Regions from separate parts of the Homo sapiens genome. Here regions 1, 2, 3, 5, 6 and 7 are each linked to region 4. Evidence: promoter capture Hi-C in 16 types of primary human blood cells and fetal thymus (Javierre and others, 2016). All regions are on one chromosome and are shown on one strand. Each heading gives the region's core, a stretch centred on a gene start or on the middle of the fragment in contact. The rest is flanking DNA. Distances are from core to core; before and after follow the strand shown.

What was found. The method cuts DNA at HindIII sites, captures the fragments that hold promoters and counts their contacts. A CHiCAGO score of 5 or more calls a contact.
Region 1: a fragment that was not itself captured here is called in contact with the fragment with the promoter of CMAS in region 4 in 6 of 17 cell types (monocytes, erythroblasts, total CD4 T cells and 3 more); the score reaches 8.3 in monocytes.
Region 2: a fragment that was not itself captured here is called in contact with the fragment with the promoter of CMAS in region 4 in 7 of 17 cell types (non-activated CD4 T cells, naive CD8 T cells, total CD4 T cells and 4 more); the score reaches 10.9 in non-activated CD4 T cells.
Region 3: a fragment that was not itself captured here is called in contact with the fragment with the promoter of CMAS in region 4 in 15 of 17 cell types (activated CD4 T cells, erythroblasts, total CD4 T cells and 12 more); the score reaches 17.3 in activated CD4 T cells.
Region 5: a contact is called between a fragment that was not itself captured here and the fragment with the promoter of CMAS in region 4, in 1 of 17 cell types (naive CD4 T cells). The highest score is 5.3, in naive CD4 T cells.
Region 6: a contact is called between a fragment that was not itself captured here and the fragment with the promoter of CMAS in region 4, in 5 of 17 cell types (naive CD8 T cells, non-activated CD4 T cells, M1 macrophages and 2 more). The highest score is 6.8, in naive CD8 T cells.
Region 7: a contact is called between a fragment that was not itself captured here and the fragment with the promoter of CMAS in region 4, in 4 of 17 cell types (total CD4 T cells, M2 macrophages, naive CD4 T cells and 1 more). The highest score is 5.9, in total CD4 T cells.

Annotation. Positions count from the first base shown.
Region 1 is chr12:22,372,390-22,375,477 of GRCh38, forward strand. No RefSeq gene overlaps it. Among named protein-coding and RNA genes, the nearest start is that of ST8SIA1, 39 kb to the left of the region's middle. The HindIII fragment of the contact is 1,526 bases long and covers 901-2,426 here.
Region 2 is chr12:21,691,731-21,695,046 of GRCh38, forward strand. The region is part of intron 1 of KCNJ8-AS1 (KCNJ8 antisense RNA 1); the gene reads left to right. Among named protein-coding and RNA genes, the nearest start is that of KCNJ8-AS1, 31 kb to the left of the region's middle. The HindIII fragment of the contact is 7,770 bases long and covers 1-3,316 here.
Region 3 is chr12:22,456,924-22,460,157 of GRCh38, forward strand. C2CD5 (C2 calcium dependent domain containing 5) reads right to left here. Exons shown (of 27, transcript NM_001286176.2): 23 at 2,569-2,619; 24 at 1,561-1,662; 25 at 48-238. Among named protein-coding and RNA genes, the nearest start is that of C2CD5, 86 kb to the right of the region's middle. The HindIII fragment of the contact is 418 bases long and covers 1,403-1,820 here.
Region 4 is chr12:22,044,500-22,047,474 of GRCh38, forward strand. It overlaps CMAS (cytidine monophosphate N-acetylneuraminic acid synthetase), which reads left to right and starts at 1,719. Exons shown (of 8, transcript NM_018686.6): 1 at 1,719-2,064. The coding sequence starts at 1,805. RefSeq lists enhancers at 1,536-1,830, 2,146-2,851 and silencers at 1,603-1,972, 1,616-1,843. The HindIII fragment of the contact is 10,395 bases long and covers 1-2,975 here.
Region 5 is chr12:21,636,271-21,639,335 of GRCh38, forward strand. It overlaps LDHB (lactate dehydrogenase B), which reads right to left. Exons shown (of 8, transcript NM_002300.8): 6 at 2,083-2,200; 7 at 801-924. Among named protein-coding and RNA genes, the nearest start is that of LDHB, 20 kb to the right of the region's middle. The HindIII fragment of the contact is 3,914 bases long and covers 1-3,065 here.
Region 6 is chr12:22,409,951-22,412,970 of GRCh38, forward strand. No RefSeq gene overlaps it. Among named protein-coding and RNA genes, the nearest start is that of ST8SIA1, 77 kb to the left of the region's middle. The HindIII fragment of the contact is 277 bases long and covers 1,601-1,877 here.
Region 7 is chr12:21,710,637-21,713,865 of GRCh38, forward strand. All of the region lies in intron 1 of KCNJ8-AS1 (KCNJ8 antisense RNA 1), which reads left to right. Among named protein-coding and RNA genes, the nearest start is that of KCNJ8-AS1, 50 kb to the left of the region's middle. The HindIII fragment of the contact is 834 bases long and covers 1,506-2,339 here.

The DNA of each region.
Region 1 (3,088 bases), core at 414-2,913, 330 kb after region 4:
TGCAAAATGGCACAGTTACTTAAGACAACAGTTTGACAGTTTCTCATATAGCTACACATTAATTACTATATGACTCAGCAATTCCATTCCCAGTTATTTATCAAAGACAAATACAAATTTATATTCACACAAAAACCTGTACATAGATGTTTATAGCACCTTAATTTATAACTGCCAGAAACTGGAAACAGCACAAATGCTCTTTAGCTTGTGGATGATAAACAAACTCTGGTCCATCCATAAAAAGGAATATGATTCAGCAATTTTTAAAAATACTCAACTGGATACCAAGCAAAAATAAATCTCAAATACATCATGTTAGGTGAAAAAAACCATAGGCTACATGCTGTATGATTCCAATTATACAATATTTTGGAAAAGGCAGAACTACAGGGAGAGAGGATAGATCAGTGGTTGTCAGAGGTTGGGACTGGAGAGTGATTTGATGCCAAAGGGATATTGAGAAATGTTCTTTTCATGATGAAACTGTTATGTATCTTGATTGGGTGGTGGTGATCCTATGACTCTATGCATGTTTCACAATTCAAAGAACGGTACACTAAATAGTAAATTTTACTATATGTAAAATTAAAATATAATCAGACATACATTTCTAAATAAATTAAATTTTAATCTTGTTAGATTCTCTCTCCATGTAGTTTTTATCAACCCAGTGTGCTTTTGCCTTATATCTAGCCACAATTCTATGAGTATAGCATAAGTGGAAAACAGACTTTTATGGATAATCAGTAGTCTCCACCATATAAAGTTTAATTCTGCATGAAATCATTCTCTAGTACAAACCCTTTCTATATAGATCTGCAAATAAAATGATGTGAAGATTAAAAATTTTCAGGTTGCAGAACAAAAACATTGTGCCAATTCTGTCCTCTATGTAGAAGCTTGGTAAGACCATTGCAGGCTGTTTGATAAACTATAAAGGGAAGAGAAAACCAACTGCAAGGGACTAGACAGAGGAAAAAAATGAAAGTACAAGGCAGGGTAAAAGAGAAGAATACAGTGTAAACAGAGAGGAGAGACAGGATTAGAAAGGGAAGAAAAGATAAATGGGGAATAAAATATGAAAAAAATAGACAGTGTATGAAATTTTTATATCTTTGTTATGTGGAATAATTTTTCATGGTTGTAGCTATAAAGCAAAACTGAAGTCAATTGGGAACTATGTGTTACTTTGTTTTGGTAAGTTAAATTAAGTTTCTCACACAATGAAACAAATTACTAAAAGTCTCCCTCATTACAAAAATATTGCCAATTATTTCTCCTTAGTTCTAGCTTATAACATCACTGTCTATCTCAGAAAATGAAATTGTCTAAATGTCCTTTTAAGAGTATCTCTGATGCTGGTTCTCACGTCCTTCAAATGTAGAAAAACTACTTTCTCCATAAATGTTAAGTTGCAAACAACATTGAAATCAATTTATAAGCTAGATAAAGACTACCATAAAGTTTCCACAAAAGTACACTCACCTCATGCTGCTGATGTAAGCATTTAACATAAAAGGTTTATATATGCAGTTCTCTGGAACCTCTCTCTAAAAGTTAGCAATCCCTATCCATCCCAAACAACCAGAGAACAACCAGTCTGCAAATCTGAGCGCAGTCTGCTTTTCTGCTTTCTACTACACTTGGTGCCATTTTGGTCTCTCTCAAGGCCTTCAGCTTTGTGTTGAGAAGGGGACCCCTCTCCTCCCTCTCCATCAGCAATATCAAGGTCAGGGAAGCATTTTTAAAAGTTTCTGCTTAGGTCTGATTCTCCATACCACAGCATATATTTGAATTATGACATGCGTGTCAGTGATTTTCAACCAAGGAGATGTTGTTCTCAAGGTTTGGCAATGTCCAGAGACATCTTTGGCCATGATTACTGGGGGAAGGATGCTACTGGCATCTAACAGGTGGAGGCCGGGAATGCTGCTAAATTCTACAACACACAGGACAATCTTCCACAACAAAGAATTAATTAATTCAAAATATCAGTAGTGCCAAGGTTGGGAAACACTGATCTATATATATATATATATTTCAACATCTACCTCTTTATCTGTATCTATTTTTAAACCAAGTAGTCGTTTGGGGTTTCTGGTAGTTTTTGTAATTAGGGATGTTTGGAGTTTTCAGGTAAGCATGTTTGGTTGGTTAAGAGACCACCCAGATTAATTAGCAGACTCACTGGAGACCTTGAATAATGTCTTCAGTAATACTGAGCATTGGGAATTTGATTCTGACTCAAGCTGCAGAACCCTGGTTTATGTAGCCACATAAACTCTGAAGAGGAACACTGTCTCTTTCAGAGTGGAAACTTCCACAGTTCTAACGTTTTCACTTCCTCCCTTCACAAGGGAAATAATAATATTCTTGTGAAACTTAAAAAATAATACCAAAAAGCGAGAGAAAAAAAGGAAACAAGCTTTAAGCATGAAACACCAGCATAATTATACATGCAAATACTTGGATAATTACTACTTCTTTACCTGGCATTATAGTACATTAATAACATAATAGTAAACTGAATTTACCCTTAAATGGATCCTTAGGCTCAAGTAATATTGTTCATCTCTAAAAGGCACTGGAAGTACAAAACAAGTTCACCCTGGTAAGTGGATAGATAATTTATAATATAAAATAAATCCAATAAAATTCTTGATGTCTTCTTTAAAACTAAAAAAGTATTAAAATGCTTTTGTCACTCTGACAAAAGCATTCAAATGGGGGATAAATGAGAGTGAAGCAGAAAACTTTAGTTTGCAAGTTCCAATTTCCTCTGTAAGAGTCAAAAGATAAGGTTAGCTTTTGAGGCATCCTATCAATACTTTAGAAACCAGTGTTGGTTAAGTATAATGAAAAAAAATTAATCATTGTGTTGTTTTATGTGCATTTACAATTTTGTTTATTTTTAAAAAATTTCTATGGGTACATTTATGGACATATTTAAGAGTCTTTACAACACGAAAAAAATTCACTCTATTGGACTTATAGAAATATTAAGAATAAAATCTATGTTTAAATATTTCAAAATTTTAATTGGCTACATTAATAAGTTTTTATTTATAGTTGCATAAGGAGTTTG
Region 2 (3,316 bases), core at 577-3,076, 350 kb before region 4:
CATTCTGATAGCAAAACCTGCCAAACACCCAACAACCACAAAGTAAAACTTCAGGCCAATATCTCTGATTACCATAGGTGCAACAACCCTCAACAAAATACTAGAAAAGCAAATCCAGCAGCATATCAGAAAGCTAATCCACCATGATTAACTAGGCTTTATTGATGTGAAAGATTGGTTCAACACACACAAATCAATAAGTATGATTCATTATATGAAAATAACTAAAAGCAAAAACTACACAATCATCTCAATAGACACAAAAAGGCTTTCAATAAAATTCAACATCTCTTCATGTTAAAAATGCACAACAAACTAGGCGTTGAAGGAATGTACCTCAAAACAGTAAGAGCCATCTATGACAAACTCACAGTCAACATCATACTGAATGGGCAAAAGCTGGAAGTATTCCCCTTGAGAACCAGAGCAACCAGGGAAGAGAAAGAAATAAAAGGCATCCAAATAGGAAGAAAGGAGGTCAAACTATCTTTGCAGATGATATGATTCTATACCTAGAAAATCCCATAGTCTCTTCCCCAAAACTCCCAGATCTGATAAACAACTTCAGCAAAGTTTCAGGATACAAAATCAATGCACGAAAATCGCTAGCACTCCTATACGCCAGGAACATCCAAGCTGAGAGCCAAATAAAAAAACTTATTCCTATTCACAGTAGCCAAAAAAATAATAACATATATAGAAATACAGCTAACCAGGAAGGTGAACAATCTCTACAATGAGAATTAAAAAACACTGCTGGAAGAAATTAGGGGTGACACTAACAAATGGAAAAATATTCCATGTTCATGGATAGGAAGAATTAGTATTGTTAGATTGGCCACGCTGCCCAAAGCAATGTGCAGATTCAATGCTATTCTTATCAAACTACCTCAATGATATTTTTTCACAGAATTAGAAAAAAGTATTCTAAAATTCATGTAGAACCAAAAAAAAAAAAAAAAAAGCCTGAATAGCCATGGCAACCCTAAGCAAAAAAGCAAAGCTAGAGGCACTTTAATACCCAATTTCAAACTATACTACAAGGCTATTGTAGCCAAAACAGCATAGTGCTGGTACAAAAACAGACACATCGACTAAGGGAACAGGTTAGAGAACCCAGAAGTAAAACCACACATGTACAACTATCTGATCTTCAACAAAATTGACAAAAAACAAGCAATGGGGAAAGAACTCCTTATTTAATAAATGGGGCTGGGATAACTGGCTTGCCATATGCAGAAGATTTAAACTGGACCCCTTACTTTCACCATATACAAAAATCAACTCAAGATGAATTAAAGACTTCCATGTAAAACCCAAAACTATAAAAATTTTAGAAGAAACCCTAGGAAATCCCATTCTGGACATAGGCCCTGGCAAAGATTTCATGATGAAGACTTCAAAAGCAATTGCAGCAACAATAAAACTCGACAAATGGTACCTAATTAAACTAAAGAGCTTCTGCATAGTTGAAAGAAACTATTAACAGAGTAAACAGAAAACCTACATACATAATGGGGGAAAATATTTGCAAACTATGCACCCAACAAAGGTCTAATATACATAATCTATAAGGAACTTAGACAAATTAACAAGCAAAAACCAAACAACCCCATTAAAAAATGGACAAAGGATATGAAGACACTTCTCAAAAGAAGACATACATGTAGCCAACAAACACATGAAAAGAAGCTCAACATTACTAATCGTTAGAAAAACGCAAACCAAAACCATAATGAGATACTATCTCACACCAATCGGAATGGCTATTATTAAAAGGTCAAAAAATAACCGATGCATGTGAGGTTGTGGAGAAAAGGGAGCACTTACACACCGCTGGTAGGAATGTAAATTAGTTCATCCTCTGTGGAAGTCAGTTTGGAGATTTTTCACAGGACTTAAAACAGAACTACCATTCAACCCAGCAATCCCGTTACTAGGTATATACCCAAACTACCATAAAGACACATACACGCATGTGTTCATCGTAGCACTATTTACAATAGCAAAGATGTGAAACCAGCCTAAATGCCCATCAATGATGGACTGGATAGAGAAAATGTGGTATGTATATACCATGGAATACTATGTAGCCATAAAAAGAAGGAAATCATGCCCTTTACAGTAACACGATGGAGTTGGAGGCCATTATCCTAAGCAAATTAATGCAGGAGCAGAAAAGTAAATACTGCATATTCTCTCACCTGGGAGATAAACACTGAGTACACATGGACGCAAAGAAGAGAACCATAGACACCAAGACCTACTTGGTGGTGGAGGGTAGGAGGAGGGTGAGGACCAAAAAACTACCTATCAAGTCCTATGCTTATTATCTGGGTGACTAAGAAATCCCATGACACACAATTTAGCCATGTAACAAACCTGCACACGTACCCCCCCGAACCTAAAATAAAAGTTGCAAAGAAAAAAAAACCAGTATTAAGCAGGTATATTTCTGTTTTTACTAATGTATCTTTGGGTTGATTCCTAGAAGTAAGACAGCTGGATTAAGGGTCAGGATTTTGTATTGTTTTCTAATCTCAATGGGCAGTCTTGAGGTATGTAGCTTTTGCCATGGTCATAGTGAAACTGGAAAAGTTCCCTTGTCCCCTTCGCAGGGCATGCGAGAGAGGGAGTGGCTAGCTTCTTCAGTGTTTCGCTGCTCACATCTCTGGGGGAGCATACAGATGGGCAGGATGTGGGGCTTCGACCCCATGGCAGTGTCTAGGGGTGAATTTTTACAGCTCCTGAAGCCCCAGTGAGTGTGTGCTACTGGGGGCTCTTAGTTTTGCTGTCTATAGGCAGCTTGTGTTAATCAGCTCAATTAGACACTCTGCCTCGTGGCAAGGACAGAGGCCTTTCTGTATCCCGGGTTCTTGCCTTGGTGTGCCTGAAGAATCGGTTCACACGTGGGCTTGAAGAATGAGTGCAAGGTTTTACTGAGTGGAAGTAGCTCTCAGCAGATGAGGGAGCCAGAAGGAAGATGGTTTTCCTCTGGAGTTGGGCTGCTGGATGGCCTGGGCGCTCTCCTCCGACTGCCCCAGCCAAACTCCGTGTCAGTCTGCCAGTCGGTTGGTGGCTTGTTGGCCTGCTGGTGCTTGTCGGTGCGTTCCTCTCAATGTCCAGCCACCTGCGTGTTCCTCCAGTGATGTGCTCCTCTCGATGTCCAGCCGTTTGTGTGTCTGCCTGTTAGGGTGTTGGGGGTTTTCATAGGCATAGGATGGGGGAGTGGCACGCCAGGGTGGTCTTGAAAAATGCAACATTTGGGCAGGAAAACAAAAATGCCTGTCCTCACCTAGGTCCCTGGTCACAAGGC
Region 3 (3,234 bases), core at 362-2,861, 410 kb after region 4:
CTTCAGAGAAAATTTTTTAAAAAATGAAATAACTTCTATAAAATTACCTCCCGAAGAGAAGTAGTCTCTCGAATAAAAAACATGTTAATTATCCCAAGATACTTAGTTATTTTTGCTCCAGGAATAAAAGAAAGAGGTGTCATCTTAACAACCCCAACTGTGGAATTTGCACAAGGTGGAGCAGAACGATTCCGGAAATTTCCATCACCCACTGGACTTGCTTTTTCAACTGTCATGGCTAAAATTGGAGAAAAATGAGAAAACATTCAGAACAGACGCTGGTAACACAATTATTCCCTGAGGTTTCCAAATAAGTGGTGACAACATTCAGCTGTCTGTGAGGCTAAGCCATGTCATGAAAGAAAAGAAATTATCATGCACTGCATGCAATTAAAAAAGAGAGACAGAAAAACATGAGAGGAAATGCTGGAATGGAATTCTTTTGGAAGAAAAATGGCATTCCTGCAAAAGAAAATGTTGATGCAGTATAGCTACACACACAATGATTGGTTATAAAGTGAAGAAAAAGAAAAAGCGGCTGAGCATTAAAATTATCTGCTGTAGGAACAAATTATTACAAGGAGAGTGTGAAAGTTGTTCTATTTCCCAGTGCAATTTTTCCATCTTTTTCAGACGACTTCATCATTGTCAACTTGTAGATAAACCTTATGTTATCTAGTTGTAAGATACTGGTTTTTTCCAAACCTTTTTGAAAACCAACTCATAATTTTAAAAGCTTAACGACCTCTGCTAGCTAAAAGTTGGTTGTTTATAAAGTAAAAAAATAATAGCTACCACTTATTAAATAACTGCCATAAGCCAGACATATATATATATATCTAATCCTTACAACCACCCAAAAACACAGGTTATCATCATCATCCCCATTTCATGCATGAGGAAATGGAAGGTTAGAGAAGTTAAGTAACTTGCCCAAGGTCTCATAGCTATTAAAATGGCACTTCTAGGATTCAGAACCAGATCTGGCTGGTTTCACATCCTATATTATTTCCTGTGAAATGTAGTTTTTTCCCCCTTTTAATGTACGGTAAGCTCTTTCACTCAAATATATTTACCTCAAAATTTACCAAAACACATGGCATAAGATAACATATAAGTAATGATTCTGATTCTAGCAGTAAGGTAATAACTACTTTCTCACCATAAATTCTTTATTAGTTTAGCCCTCTGCATATCACACTTAATAAACCGACAGATGCCACATACTAAATAGTACCTTGGGTCCTGGAAGAATGTCTTTTCAATAAGAGAGTTGGCAATTTACTTCCAATTAGAATGATATAATATCTATTTATATACTTTTAAGAATACCTGCACAAAAAGGAAAATTTTAAAAACACAATTCTATAGGTAAAACTAATAAATCTAAAGGCCTTTCAAAAGCTTTTCCTAAATGACCGTTACAGTCTGCAGCTTTCACACTCTAATACATGATGGATTGGCAATGTTATTACTGGGTAGTAAGGTCTAGCTTTCACCACTGGGAAATCAGGGATATGTTTCTCAGATTATCATAATGTGGTAGAAACATCCGCCTACTTGTCTTAATTGATCCACGCCTTATGGTCTGAGCTTTCAGTTTAATGAGCTCTATCCAGCTGCTGCATCTGTCTGCAAAGGAACTGTAATCAACTGACGTTGCTGAAAACACAGACAGAAAACAAAAGAAAAAAACAAAGAAAAAAATATGGATGATGTCTCTTACTCGTCTTAACACTCCTTTCGATGATGTAATTTAACTGTAACTCAGAAAAAGAATGGTCCTTTTCAAGTCAGATAAGAGAGATAGTAAAGAGTCAAGCTTTAGACACTGATTTGTCCAAAACCAAGTTCTCAGTTAGCAGGCTGAGCATTTCTGGTGATGTCATAGTTGTGTGGTCTCCTAGGGAGAGCCTGAGTGGGGTCTAACATAAATATCAATGAAAGGACCACATACTGTGCTTTAACTAACTTTATTTCCTATTCTTCTTAATTTACAATATTTCAGTTGTTTCTATTTTATTTTATAATCAAAGCTTTGTGAATAATTCATTTCCCTAGTTTTACCCTAAAATTTTAAAAAAAGAGAATCAAATGTTGAAGAATATATTTTTAAAAGTTAGTAGTTGACTTATCTGTTATTAAAGTATCTTCTTTCTACAATCAGTAAGAGGAAAACCAAAGGGCCATTTTTGTTAATGTTTTGTTTCCATGTCTGATTTTGGGCAACAAAGCCTCTGATAATATGGGGTCAGGGCAGGTGTGAGCCTCACAAGTTCCCCCTTTTAAAAACAATAACTTTTACTACTGCTAAGCTGGAAAAAAAATTTTAAGGAGCTAAAATTTTATGCTTAGAAACTGGGAAACCATTAACATACTAAAAAATTTAAATATTAGTTTAATTGATGCTTTTAAAAGAACATATTCTACCTACAAAAAAAAAAAAGCCAGATTTTGGTGTCTATTCCATATTGTCCAGTGCATTTTCTTCAATGTCTATAATTTTATGCACCACCAAACTAGAATTTTACACCTTTGGTGACTATTTGCTTAATTAGACAAACTCACCTCTCTGTGCAGCTGGTATACCTGAGTTAGAACTTGCACTCTCCAGGTGTTCTAATAAGACAATATGAACAACATTAGCTCAGATGCTAAGTACAAGCCAGTACCTCTTCTTTGTTATTTGTTAATACCTCTATAAGCCAGAAGAATAGGAGGAAATCTTTATGGCTTCATTGCAAAAGCAAACCAAATAAAAGCATCTAGGTTTAAAATGCAGTTTCTATTGATAAATGAAAACTAGCTCAGTTCATAAATACCATGCCAAAGGAGACTACTTGCTTACTGTAACACAAAAAGAGTTTCAGAAACTTTATAGTCACAAGAAAATATAAACATAGTAACGAATGTGAGTATGATGAAAGCAGGATGTGAGACTAGGCAGAGAAAAGGGTCAATGTGTTGGGAAGAATATCTGAAATGAAACATGGAAGGAAAATGTTTGCTGTGGGGAAGAGTCTATAAGATTACAAATTACAGACAAGATAATGATTATGCTTCACAGATCAGCATAAGCTGCTCCCTAGTCTTAACTCTCACCACCAACTTCTTCATTCGAAGACTTCGATATCAACAGCTCCCTCTGGTGGTATCAAGACTTTGTGAAACTAAAAAATGAGTGATCACAGAGGTAACCAGGAATCCCAAGCCAGTATCACTCCCTTTCCAGTA
Region 4 (2,975 bases), core at 469-2,968:
TCATAGAGCCTGCCCCTTTCCCAAGCATGGCATTGATGTCTGCTCACAGCCTCCCTTATCTGTGTCTGCACGAAGCACCTTCTTCCAGCACCAGTCCCAGGAAGGGCTGGGCCCTCAGTTAATTCACAGACTAAGAGATGTAAAGTATCCAGTACCTCTCATAGGACCCAAAACATCAAAGACTTCTTCTCTCCCCTCAAAAATGGCCAAGACCTGAGAAGTACAAAATCCTTTTGCCCTCTGGGAGAAGGCAAGCCGACACACTACAATCCATTCTTTCTGTTTGTATCAGCCTCCATCTCAGAAATGTAAAAGACTCTACTTCCAAATATAGGCTTGCAAACATGCTGAAAGACAAAATGCATGCTAGGTCAGAGATGCCTGCTTTAAAGTCTCTTTTTTTTTTTTTCCTAAGAGAGGTGTGTGTGGGTGTATGTCTTTGAGCCTCTTGGCTGGATCAGGGTTTAAATGCTCAGGCGTGGCGGCTCATGCCTATAATCCCAGCACTTTGAGAGGCTGAGGCGGGCAGATCACTTGAGGTCAGGAGTTCAAGACCAGCCTGGCCAACCTGGTGAAACCCCCAACTCAACTAAAAATACAAAAATTATCTGGGTGTGGTGGTGCCCCTCTGTAATCCCAGCTACTCAGGACGCTTGAGAATGGGTGGCAGAGGGTTGCAGCGAGCCGAGATTGTGCCACTGCACTCCAGCCTTCTGGGGGACACAGTGAGAATCTGTCTCAAAAAAAAAAAAGAGTTTAAATGATGCCTCCAGAATTCTTTCTCTTTAATCCCTACATGTCATTGTTCTGCTTCCTCAGGGAGAACATCAGTCTTCCAGCCCATTTCAGAACAGCAAAGCCCCCCTGCCGCCCTACCCTACCCTTGCCCTGAGGCTTCAGGTTAACAAGGTCCTTAGCACCCAGTCAGCACGAGAAAGATCCTTTCTTTCCAAGACTCTCTGGAAAGGACTCCAGTGGGCTCTGCTTGGTCATATGCCTGTCCCTAGACCACAGGTGTGTTAAGGAAAATGGGGTGCGTAGATGGACCAGCTTGGGTCACACACAGTGCAGAGAATGTGAGGGAAACCCTCACCGGATGAGAGAGGGATCAATTCCTAAAAGGAAAAGATTTTTAGCAGACAACAAAACAAAACCAAAAAACCAAGTGTCGGCCACACTAGAGGTGACCAGTAAAGCTGACTTCCAAATTTCTGCTGCTAGGGAATGCTGATGTCGATCAAAGTGCGGAGAGCATATGAAAAATGGAGTTTTTAAAACGTTGAGTTTAAGGCGCCTGTAGGATATTTGAATGAGCTGGTCAGTAATTTCTTGGAAAAAATGACCCAGGGGCATTAAAAAAAGGTGTATGTTTAAAATGTACATTTTAAAATATAAAATGGATTCGTGTCAGGGTGCATCAAGGTATGCAACGGGAAACCCACCACAATTCTAAAGTGGGGAAGTTCTTCAGCAATTATAAATACTTTTTTTCTTTTTTAATTTTAGAAATTTACAGACACTTGCAAGCACCCCAAAAGCCGCACTTCCTCCAAATATCTCTGGACTCCCACTGCTTGACTTAGTTTTGGGGTCACCTCATCAGAGCCTACTTGGCCTACTGGCCCCAGACGAGGCGGCCGCGGACTACAATTCCCAGCGAGCACCGCGAGGGGCGGGGGAGGGGGCGGGGCGAGGGACGGCCGCGCGCGCCAGCTGCCAGGCGGGGATCGGGCGGCGCCGAGCTGAGGTGGTGAGGGACTAGCTCCCGGATGTGGAGAAGCTGGGGAGAAGGCGTGGGAGGAAGATGGACTCGGTGGAGAAGGGGGCCGCCACCTCCGTCTCCAACCCGCGGGGGCGACCGTCCCGGGGCCGGCCGCCGAAGCTGCAGCGCAACTCTCGCGGCGGCCAGGGCCGAGGTGTGGAGAAGCCCCCGCACCTGGCAGCCCTAATTCTGGCCCGGGGAGGCAGCAAAGGCATCCCCCTGAAGAACATTAAGCACCTGGCGGGGGTCCCGCTCATTGGCTGGGTCCTGCGTGCGGCCCTGGATTCAGGGGCCTTCCAGAGGTGCGCATGTGCGAGAGTGGGCGGCGCGGCCTGGGCGGGGGTCGGGAGAGGGAGTCGGGCTGCTGGAGGGGCTGGGGCCTCCGGGGCCACCGCTCTTGGAAGGGGGCCATCTCTCATGCCAGGGATGTGCAAGATCCGGGGTGCCTGGGGCCGGGCTGAGAGCCCAGGAGGAAGGGCTCCAGCTCCTTCCTTGTTCCGTAGCTGCCAATGGTCATAACCTGGGACAGTTCCTGTCTCCGCCCTTGAGAATCATCCGTAAAAGGGGAGATTACACCTCCCCAACCGTCCCCTCCTCCCGGGTTGACCTTACGGGGAAAAGTAAAGGAGGCCACCCCGGTGCAACATCTGTGATAATATGTGAACTTCTTTGGATGGGGGCCATCGAAGCTCCCCTGTTGCTCAGCCTCTGATAACTGCTTGGTGCTGCTCGATTAGGGAGGCATCAGGTTCATGAATGGAGTTGAGTGTCGGGGTGTCAGAGCTGAATTTCAAGCTCAGCTTGGAGATCTTTTCCTAACCTTTGAAAAATACTCCAGCTATCTTCCTGTGAGTCAGCACAATCTAGAAAACTCCCTACATTTATAAATACGTGAGACTCAGTGGGAAGGTGTACAACTGACTGTTTTATGATATATTAATACTTACAAATCATTTAATCATACCTTTGGAACCTCGCCTGCCCTATGGACAGTTTTAATTATGCGTAATTTAGATACATTGCCAAATTGGTCAGGAGTTACAAGCTGATGTTATTCATAAAAGAAGGGAGATCGAATTCTGTGCCAAGAATGAATTTACACATATAGCTTCAACCTAACTACATTTGAATGTGTTGTTATTGTGGAAATTAATTTATGTTAACCTTTTGATGTTTCGATTTTTAAAGAGATGACTGTTTTTGAAGTCATCTC
Region 5 (3,065 bases), core at 251-2,750, 410 kb before region 4:
GCCAACTTATGAGGTCCTGGGTAATAGTTAGAGACCATTAAAAGGCAAGATGCTTGGAATACCCAAGAATTGCTAAAAAAAAAAAAAAAAATACAATTTCCAAAACACTTTACCAGTTCGTGTGGGTAATTTATTCACAGGGTCAATTTAACTATATAACTAATTATATTAAACATACCTTAATGTCAGTTTTTAAACTTTTAATTTCAAAAATTTTGTACATACACAAAAGTAGATAGAATAAACAAATTCCTATGTATGTACCCAAAGACTCAGTAATTACCCAATTATTGACACACTTGATTTACACTGACTTGTGGAAAATGAGTCAGTTGTCTTACAAAATATTTTAATATAATTTTAGTTTTGTTTAAAAAATCATTAATTTCTACCTGTTTTGTGCATTTGCTCCATAGCTTTTGAATTAAACTGTATTTGCTAAGGTATCAAGTGCTATATGAAAGGCAATCTAGAGTTTAGTACATCAACTTTAAATGAAACTCTATTACACTTATTCAAATGATCAATACTTTAAGAATGTGCTAAGATTCAGAGTTAATATTTAATTTGCAAAATTATATAAAGAATGACAACAATCTATTGAATGTCTTAGATTCTCTAAGTTTTCTGCCCTTGCTGTCCAAGACTTCTGTTGGAAAATGAGAATAGTTTACATAAAACTTTGAGAGACAGAAATAACCTTGAACTATGATTTTATCTGGTCTGAGCCTCTTTAAATGAATCTTTTTGTAGAATACAATGCGAGAAATCATATTACATTTTGTGGTAGTTTGTCTTACCTTTACCATTGTTGACACGGGATGAATCCTGGATAGATTTTTCAACATGGATTCAATAAGATCAGCCACACTTAATCCAATAGCCCAGTTGGTATATCCTTTTAGCTTGATGACTTCATAGGCACTTAAAAAAATTATAAAAGACATCACTGAAATAAGACTCAATCATTATTGAAACCAGACCTGACTTTGACTACTGCTCTGTCTCTAACTATAATCTTGGGCAAATTATTTACCCTTTATTGCCTTAGTGTTCCCTTTTTGAGTGTTAAATGAATTAATATATATGTAAAATGCTTAAAACTGTAAGCACTACACAGTAAACACTATATAAATGCTTGATAACTTTAGTTTATTGTATAAGTTAAGATTTATAAAGTCACTGTGGCAAAAATATACATTTTCCAATCATTGTAACAAATCTGTAAACATATTTCCAAACACATAAAATCAGGAAACAATAAAAGTGAAAGAACAAAATATATCTCAATTGTGAGGTCCCACTTGCCACTGTCACCTAACATAATCAACTAACTAATAAAAGGGATAAGAGTATCTTGCCTGACAGTTTTTTCAGCACAAATTGTAGCTCTTAAAACCCATAAAGGCCCTGGCACTTGAGAAGCAGCAGGAATAACTCTAGCTGAGTATTGGAAAATTAGGATTTAATGCAATTGACACCCAATCATTAGAAGACCTTGGACCAGTTACACTATCTGGGTGAGCCATAGTTTTCTCACTTGTAAAATAAAGGTATATGTTAATTGAAATTATAAAGACTCTTTCAACTTTTTTAAGGTTCCTTTTCTCCACATATAGTTCAAATTCCTGAAAAAAAAATTACTAAAATTGAACAAAATGATTCTATATTTGAGACATCAGTTAGTCCTGTTATTAAAACTTAAACACTGTTAGCAATCAGCAAGCAAGTTTATTTATTTGGGGCAATTATGAAACCAATAGTTTCTAAGTTTACTTTTCTAAATAAATCAACCTTATTTGTTGAGAGGTGGCAATTTGAAGACTCTTCTCACTTGTTAATTCCACATTTTGCTCCTGTTACCTCTACAATAGAGTTTCTCTAGAGAAAATATTTACTTTCCCTAGGGAGACTGGCATAGCAAGTTTGACCAGTGTAAAAGTCTTATCAGTTTCAAAAGATAACAGCTGCATAATTACTACATTAAGAGTTTATCTGAGCAGACAGCCATGGAAAATGTTTATAATTTTATTTAAGTAGAGTTGAAATTAATCATCTAAAATCAAGTTCCCTTTCACTTACCTTTCAACCACCATCTTATGCACTTCCTTCCAATTTTCACTATCATTGTCAGTTCCCATTTCTGGATTCAATTCCTGGAGAGAAACACCTGCCACATTCACACCACTCCACACAGCCACTGTTTAAAAAAAAAAAAAAAGACATTGCAGTTATTTCTTACATTATTTTAAAAAATATTTTCTTCTTTTAGTGCAATTTCACCTATGATGCAAATTACTGAATACCAACTGGAACTGCTCCAATAAGTGACTCTCCAGTAGATTCCAGTATAGTTCCCCAAAAAGGCTGACGTTTGCCTTCAAATAGCAACATGTCTGACCTTTTAACTTTCAAGAATTTTAGTGCAAAGCAGAATTGCTGTGTCATAGTTACAGAGAAAATAAAATTCTTTGCTTCTCTCTAGGTGTGTGAAATCACAGGGATTCTAGTTGGGGACTATGCTAAACTTTTGGTTTGAGGAATGTTTAACTTTTCTCCTCCATATTTTTCTAATATATGCTCCTTTATTCTACAGTAAAGAAAAAAAATCCTAGAATAAGACCCAAATAAAGCATAATTATGAAAGTGGGGTAAAAATTATAAATAAGGGTCTACTTAATTTAAAGGAGAAGAGTATCAGAAAGAACTACACAAAATGGGCCTTTGAATTGGACCTTAAAACCTAAGTTATATGTTTCTTGGAGACCTTTGGAGGAGTACATTGTAGACTCTGGAAATAGGAGCAAAAGTGTGGGGTAGAATCTACTATGACTGAAACAGATATGAAGGGAAAAGCTATTTAAAGCCAAATAAGATCCCCTATTAGTCCACAACTTCTGGCAAGTTAGGGTAATTGGATATTTTTACAATTTTGATGAAAATTATGAAATCTGCATAATCATGTCTAGTGAGCATGGTTTAATTCTCTTTCATTTTACGTACACAATATAGATCAACATGAAAAATTTTAAAAAGATGTTCTGGGAAAAATAACAGCCATAATG
Region 6 (3,020 bases), core at 489-2,988, 370 kb after region 4:
GACGAGGCAGGTAAGGTCGTTTTCATTCAACCTAGAAAATGACTTTGGTTCAAAGCAGTAGCATGAACAGAATCTGAATGCACATGTTGACTATTCTTTCTGTCGGTGGCACATTAGCCCGGAGTTTCTGCTCTCCTAAGGTGGTGCCATGATGGAAAGTGCTATCACTACCCTGGCTCAAATGAGGCTTAGAAAGACAAGAAACTGGCTGGGCGCGGTGGCTCACGCCTGTAATCACAGCACTTTGGGAGGCCGAGGCGGGCAGATCACGAGGTCAGGAGATCCGAGACCACCCTGGCTAACACGGTGAAACCCCGTCTCTACTAAAAATACAAAAAATTAGCGAGGCGTGGTGGCGGGTGCCTGTAGTCCCATCTACTCGGGAGGCTGAGGCAGGAGAATGTCGTGAATCTGGGAGGCCGAGCTTGCAGTGAGCCGAGATCGCGCCACTGCACTCCAGCCTGGGCGACAGAGCGACACTCTGGATCAAAAAAAAAAAAAAAAAAAAAAAGACAAGAAACTTTTCGGTCTAAGGACATATCATTTTGCTCTGATTTGGAGCTGTTGTCTATCATTCACAGTTTCCCCTAAATGCGGCTTCTATGCTTTAACGCTAATTGAATCTTGGCTAGCTGAGTCATTCCATTTTGCATCTGTATACTTGTATTACCTTGCTTCTAGAAAGACTGTGGTGAAATACTCACTTGGAGTCTGACTTCTCTGACTGGAGAAACTGGTATTTCCAGGTATTTTCCTACAGCAATAAACACATTCTTCCCATCTATTGCTGTGCCAATCTATTTTTTCAATGCCAGTACCAAGCCACACTGAGTGATTCATCTATTTTGTCAATGACTTCTATCCGTTGCTAGTGTCCTAGTAATCTAATAGCAAGCATATGGGAGTTTCAAGAAACTAGGTAACAAGATAGAGCTGAAAGGGAAAAAACATATAAACGAACTTTGAAGCAGATAAAACACCACTATTAAAATAATTATACACATATATATCCATACAAATATATATATAACTTTTTACTCTTTTGTAGATTTGTAGAAATATTTATTAAACAGTTAAAACATGAGGGATATCCAACCAAATACCAATCTAGGTGTTGCTGTGAAGATATTTTGTAGATGTGCAGTGATGAACAAGAGACACATTATTGCTACCGTACAGTGTTTGAAACAGAGGAAACCGGGACACTGGGAGAGAGTGGAAGATGCTGAGGTCAGAGAAGGAGTCAGGGGCTAATTCCTATAGGATCTTGCAGGATTTTAATTTCAGTCTAAATGTAATGAGAAAACACGGGGTGGTGGGGTTAATAGAGGGGGCTTGATCTGGGGAGCTCTATTATCTAGATGTTTCTATACAATTGTATCTGCTTTGTTGTGGACTTTTTAAAAACTTTTCTCTATAGTCAATGTGTGATAAAATTTTAAGATTTCTCATGGTCTTTGGACACTTAAACCTCAGACCGGTTTTGGAATATCCTTCCCTAAAAATTTTAACAAGGGACAAATTTAATAGAGAGACGACTGATCTGGGTGACCTCCTGAACCCCCTCCCAACATGTAATTCTGTATGTTGTGTTTTGAAAAGCTTCCATTTGTGCGATGCCTAGCATCTAATCTCAAAACTGTTCCCTGCAGTTGATAAGTGGTGTTTTTCATGCTCTTAAGTGGGAAATAGACCTCCATTTCGGGCCTAGCGTCTATACAGAAGCATAAGCCATAAAGACTTGCATTTTAACAGTTGATGCACTAAATAAATCTCTTATTCATGTTCCATTTTACTTGTTTGTCATTCATCTTATAATGAATTGTGTTAAATGCTTTGTCAGTTAAACTTCCCTAACTTGTTTTTCTTATTTCTTAAGCTTTTTCGAAAATGTTCAGTGCCTATATTATTATTATTATTATTATTATTATTACTATTTTGAGATAGAGTCTCGCTCTGTCACCCTGGCTGGAGTGCAGTGAGGCAATCTCGGCTCACTGCAACCTCCACCTCCTTGTTCAAGCGATTCTCGTGCCTCCGCCTCCTGAATAGCTGGGATTACAGGCATGTGCCACCACACCCAGCTAATTTTTGTATTTTTAGTAGAGACAGGGTTTCGCCATATTGGCCAGGCTGGTCTCAAACTCCTGACCTCAGCTGACCCACCCGCCTTGGCCTGCCAAAGTGCTGGGATTACAGGCGTGAGCCTCCACGCCCGGCCGCCTTTATTATTTAAAAAAAAAAAAAAAAAAAAAAAAAGTTGACCAGGAGCAAAAAGATTGTTTGAAACGCTCATTATATACATTAGCATACACGTGGTTTAAAATATAAAAGATACTTAGTTCTCCATAATCTAGGATTCTAGAAAGCTAGTTTACAATGAATAATGTATCTGGAAGAGGGTGGCTATTAGAACCTCTGGGGCTTTGCCATTTCAAATGAGAAAATATATTCTGTTCATAAGTGCATGGCATTTTCAGTGGTTGCAGAGACACCAATAACTAAGCACATTTGATTATAATATTAACAAAAAATTAGGCAGGGAACTTAGCAGTTTTTAATAAATTTAATACATTCAGAACTGGTAGGATAGAATAAGTATTCCTGAAGTGGTCTATAAAGTTTGAAATGGACTCCTTTCTAATCCTTCTTTGATTCTGACCTGAAAGTAGAATTGAAATTATGCTTGCAAGATTCCCACAGCTGTGTGGCTCTTTAGAACCAAGCCAAGTATAGAAAGAATCCAAGGGAAGTTTAAGCCGGCTTCTCTCTGTGTCACGTAACCAAAATCAAATCTTTCCCGAGGCAACAAACTACAATACATTATCTATTCTAGGATGGTTAAAAAAACAAATAAATAATAAAGCAAGATGTGATAATTTTAGTTAATAATGTACATCATTGTTCTTACTCAGTTCTCTGTGGAGGATCTCATAACCTAGGGAAAGAAACAGGAAGCAATTAACTACAATGGAGTCAGATACTTGAGGTAACAGAATAACATATGGGAAGCAAAGTAG
Region 7 (3,229 bases), core at 673-3,172, 330 kb before region 4:
GTCTCGTCTCTGCCAAGTGGCTTAATTTCTCTATGCTTCCAGTTTTTGCATCTGTAAAATATTATGTTTCTCCTAGATATATTATTTACCTGCAATTATTATTTATCTTATAAATAAAGTATTGTTTACTTCAACTCTTAGGCTAGCTTGCATTCAAATGTCAGGTATTATTTCTGTAAAGTGAGAGTGGCAGGCCAAGAGCTCTCCTGGTCTAGAAACTCTGAGCCCAGAGACACTAGACTTTTCCCCTGCGGCCTATAGTGTACCTGACACTATTTGGAATTTGTATGGAATCAGCTGGCATCTTCTATTTTTGAACATTCTGGATAGTCCTCCTGAGCAGCAATCTTCTCAGCTTGCTCAGGACTGGTTGTGCCTCTTTGATTTTGAACACTGTCTTCATATTGCAGATAATGAAAGTGAAAACCCTGTGAGGTTAAGTATGATGTGCCATTTCCCTCAGAGAATTATCAGGATAGCTGAAGTTCTAGTCACCTACTCTTCACTCTGTACTCTTCCTGGCACACTGCCTTACTTCTTTATTAAAAGGCTCAGGGAGAACAAGCCATTTCTGTAGCACACTTACAACATTTTTGGGAGCGGCTCCATAAATCTCTCTAGTGTGTAACAATGGGATAATAAAACTCCGGGATTTGGAATTTACTGTGGTTCTCATCTTCTCTCCAGGCCTTTGTGACTTAGGAAGTCCATATGCTAAAATCTCAGAAAGGGTGATTCAGAGAGACCTCCTTTAATTTGGAGCTTGCTGGTGACCTCCTATTTATTTGCTTCCTCTTATTTTTTTTTCCAAACTAAGGTTTTTCACAGGACTTCATATAATTTTTCCAGCTTTTCTGGTATAAACCATCTGTGGTCACTTTGCAGAGTCTCTTTAGGTCATGGGAAAGTTCTGTCTTTCCTGCATAGCACATATATGAGCCCTGCTCACCACAGCCACTGTTAGTGGACAGTTCTATTTGTCCCTAAGGAGTTGAGATGTAGTCACAATGACAAAATGTTGCCTATCTACAATTGTGATAAAGTTTAGAATGCTCATACACTTAATTAACTCATTGGTCACTGTTAAAAATGAGTTTTACCTCTTTTCTCAGAGAGGCAAGCTATTATAGAATCTCTGCAAGAAAATGACAGTTGTAAATACTCTGATGTGTTAGTACAGTAGTACCTTTATGTTGGTTTTCCAGATACCTTTTAACTTTAAAATACCCATCAAAAGCGTACAAACATGTGATATATTGCCAGACATGCTTTGTCATTGTCTTCAGGATGTGTCATGTCCTGTCCTATCTGCTCTCAAGTCTTGATCACTTACCTGTTCTTATCAGACTAACTTCCTTCAAGACTCAGCCCCCTTGACTACTCTAATCCACAATGCCTCAGATTTCCAAAATACAAATTATTCCATGGGCTGATATTTGAATATACCTTGTCATCTACATGTGATTTGTCTTTCATGTGTATGCACATTTGTGAGTGGAACTATAAGCTTCTTGAAGATGGGGACTATCTCCTGCAATTCTCCTGAAGATCAGACATATGCATGGTTACTGCATGCACATGTTATTTTAAATAATAATTTCTAAAAATAACAATACATACCCCTTGCAGTTATTCTAAGAAATCCCAAGACAATAAGGCAAATCTGAATGATCAAAAGATTGCAAACAATGTATTTGCCTATTTTCTGTTTTTTTTTCTACAAAAATGTGTATGTGGATTTGTGTGAGAGTGTGATATCAAACTTGGATTATTCAATATACAGTTTTGTTACTGGATTTTTTTTTTAAAGTAACCGATTATGAATATTATCCAAGTGCATAATCTTACTAACCGTAATTTATTTAACTATTCCCCTATTGTTAGATATTTAAGTTGTTTCAGTTTTGACTTTATTATTAAAAATGTTTTGGCAAATATCTGTGTATCTTTCTCCCAGGAAACTTTTACCAATTTATAATTCCCCCAATAGATCACAGCGCTCTTTTCATTCCATTTATAGGCAAAAGTTGTCTTATTTTTAATTACATTCTTTGTTTCTTAGGGAGATGACCAATTTAATATGTTTAATAAACATTTAAATTTTTTCTTTGGTGAACTGCTCATTTGTGATTCTTCTCAATTTAATTTGTTGTGTGATATGTTGCTCTCAGGTTCATAAGAATTAATTATGTCTTAAAGACATTATCTGAATCCATATTTATTGGAAGTATTTTTCCATTTTAGAGTTTACCTTTAATTTTGATACTGGCAGTTCTTGATAGTATTTACAAATAATTAAATCTAGTAATTGTTTTCTTTGTGAGTTTTCCATTTCTTAAAGCTTAACTTTTCCATATAAAGCTTTGAAAATGTTTGTTTATATTTTCTCCTGGTTTTTATTTTTCTGCTTTGAATTTTTATTTATTTATTTATTTATTTTGGTTTTAAGGAGTAGAGAGTTTAGTAGACAAAAAACAAGGGAGAAGGCAGGAGGAAGAAGCTCCCCCGTGCAGAGACAGAGAGGGGGGGCTCCAAAACTGAAAGAGGAATCCCCCAAATTTTTAATTTTTAACTTTATGATACACTTGGAATTATTTGTTTTTTTACTCTCAAATAATTGATACATTTTCCAGGATCATTATGGAATAGTTCTTTTTCTGCTTATCAGCTATTTTCTTATGTATTATGCATTTTTTTTTGCTGATTATGTATTTTCTTACTGATCATACATGTAGCATATACTAGTTTTTTGTATGTGAGCATTCTTGGGGTCTTGATTATACTCCTTTGATCTATTCATTCCTGTTTAAGTTTCACAGTTTTGATTGTTGTACCTTTATAGTAAATTTTAACATCTAGTAAGACAAATTCCTCATGTTATGATTTTGTTCCTCACAAAAATCTACTTGTTTGTCTTGCTCATTTTATCTTACAGAAGTTTAGAGTTATTTGCCAAGTTAAACATGTCTGCTTGGGATTCTGCATAGAATTGCACTAAACCTTAATATTCTTTGAGATGCAATAACAAAAATAGTTGATAGCATTTAGTATATTCTTCTCAATTGGACTAACACTCCTCCCATGCTGGAAGATAACTAACTTCCAGGCTATGCACTAGTCTAATGGTGTAAAAGGTAGGGTGTTCAACTGATGGTAACTTACTTCTAAAAGGACATTTTAAGAAGAGACTTTCCAAAGTAGCTCTCACAGCTTCTGTATTATTAATCTG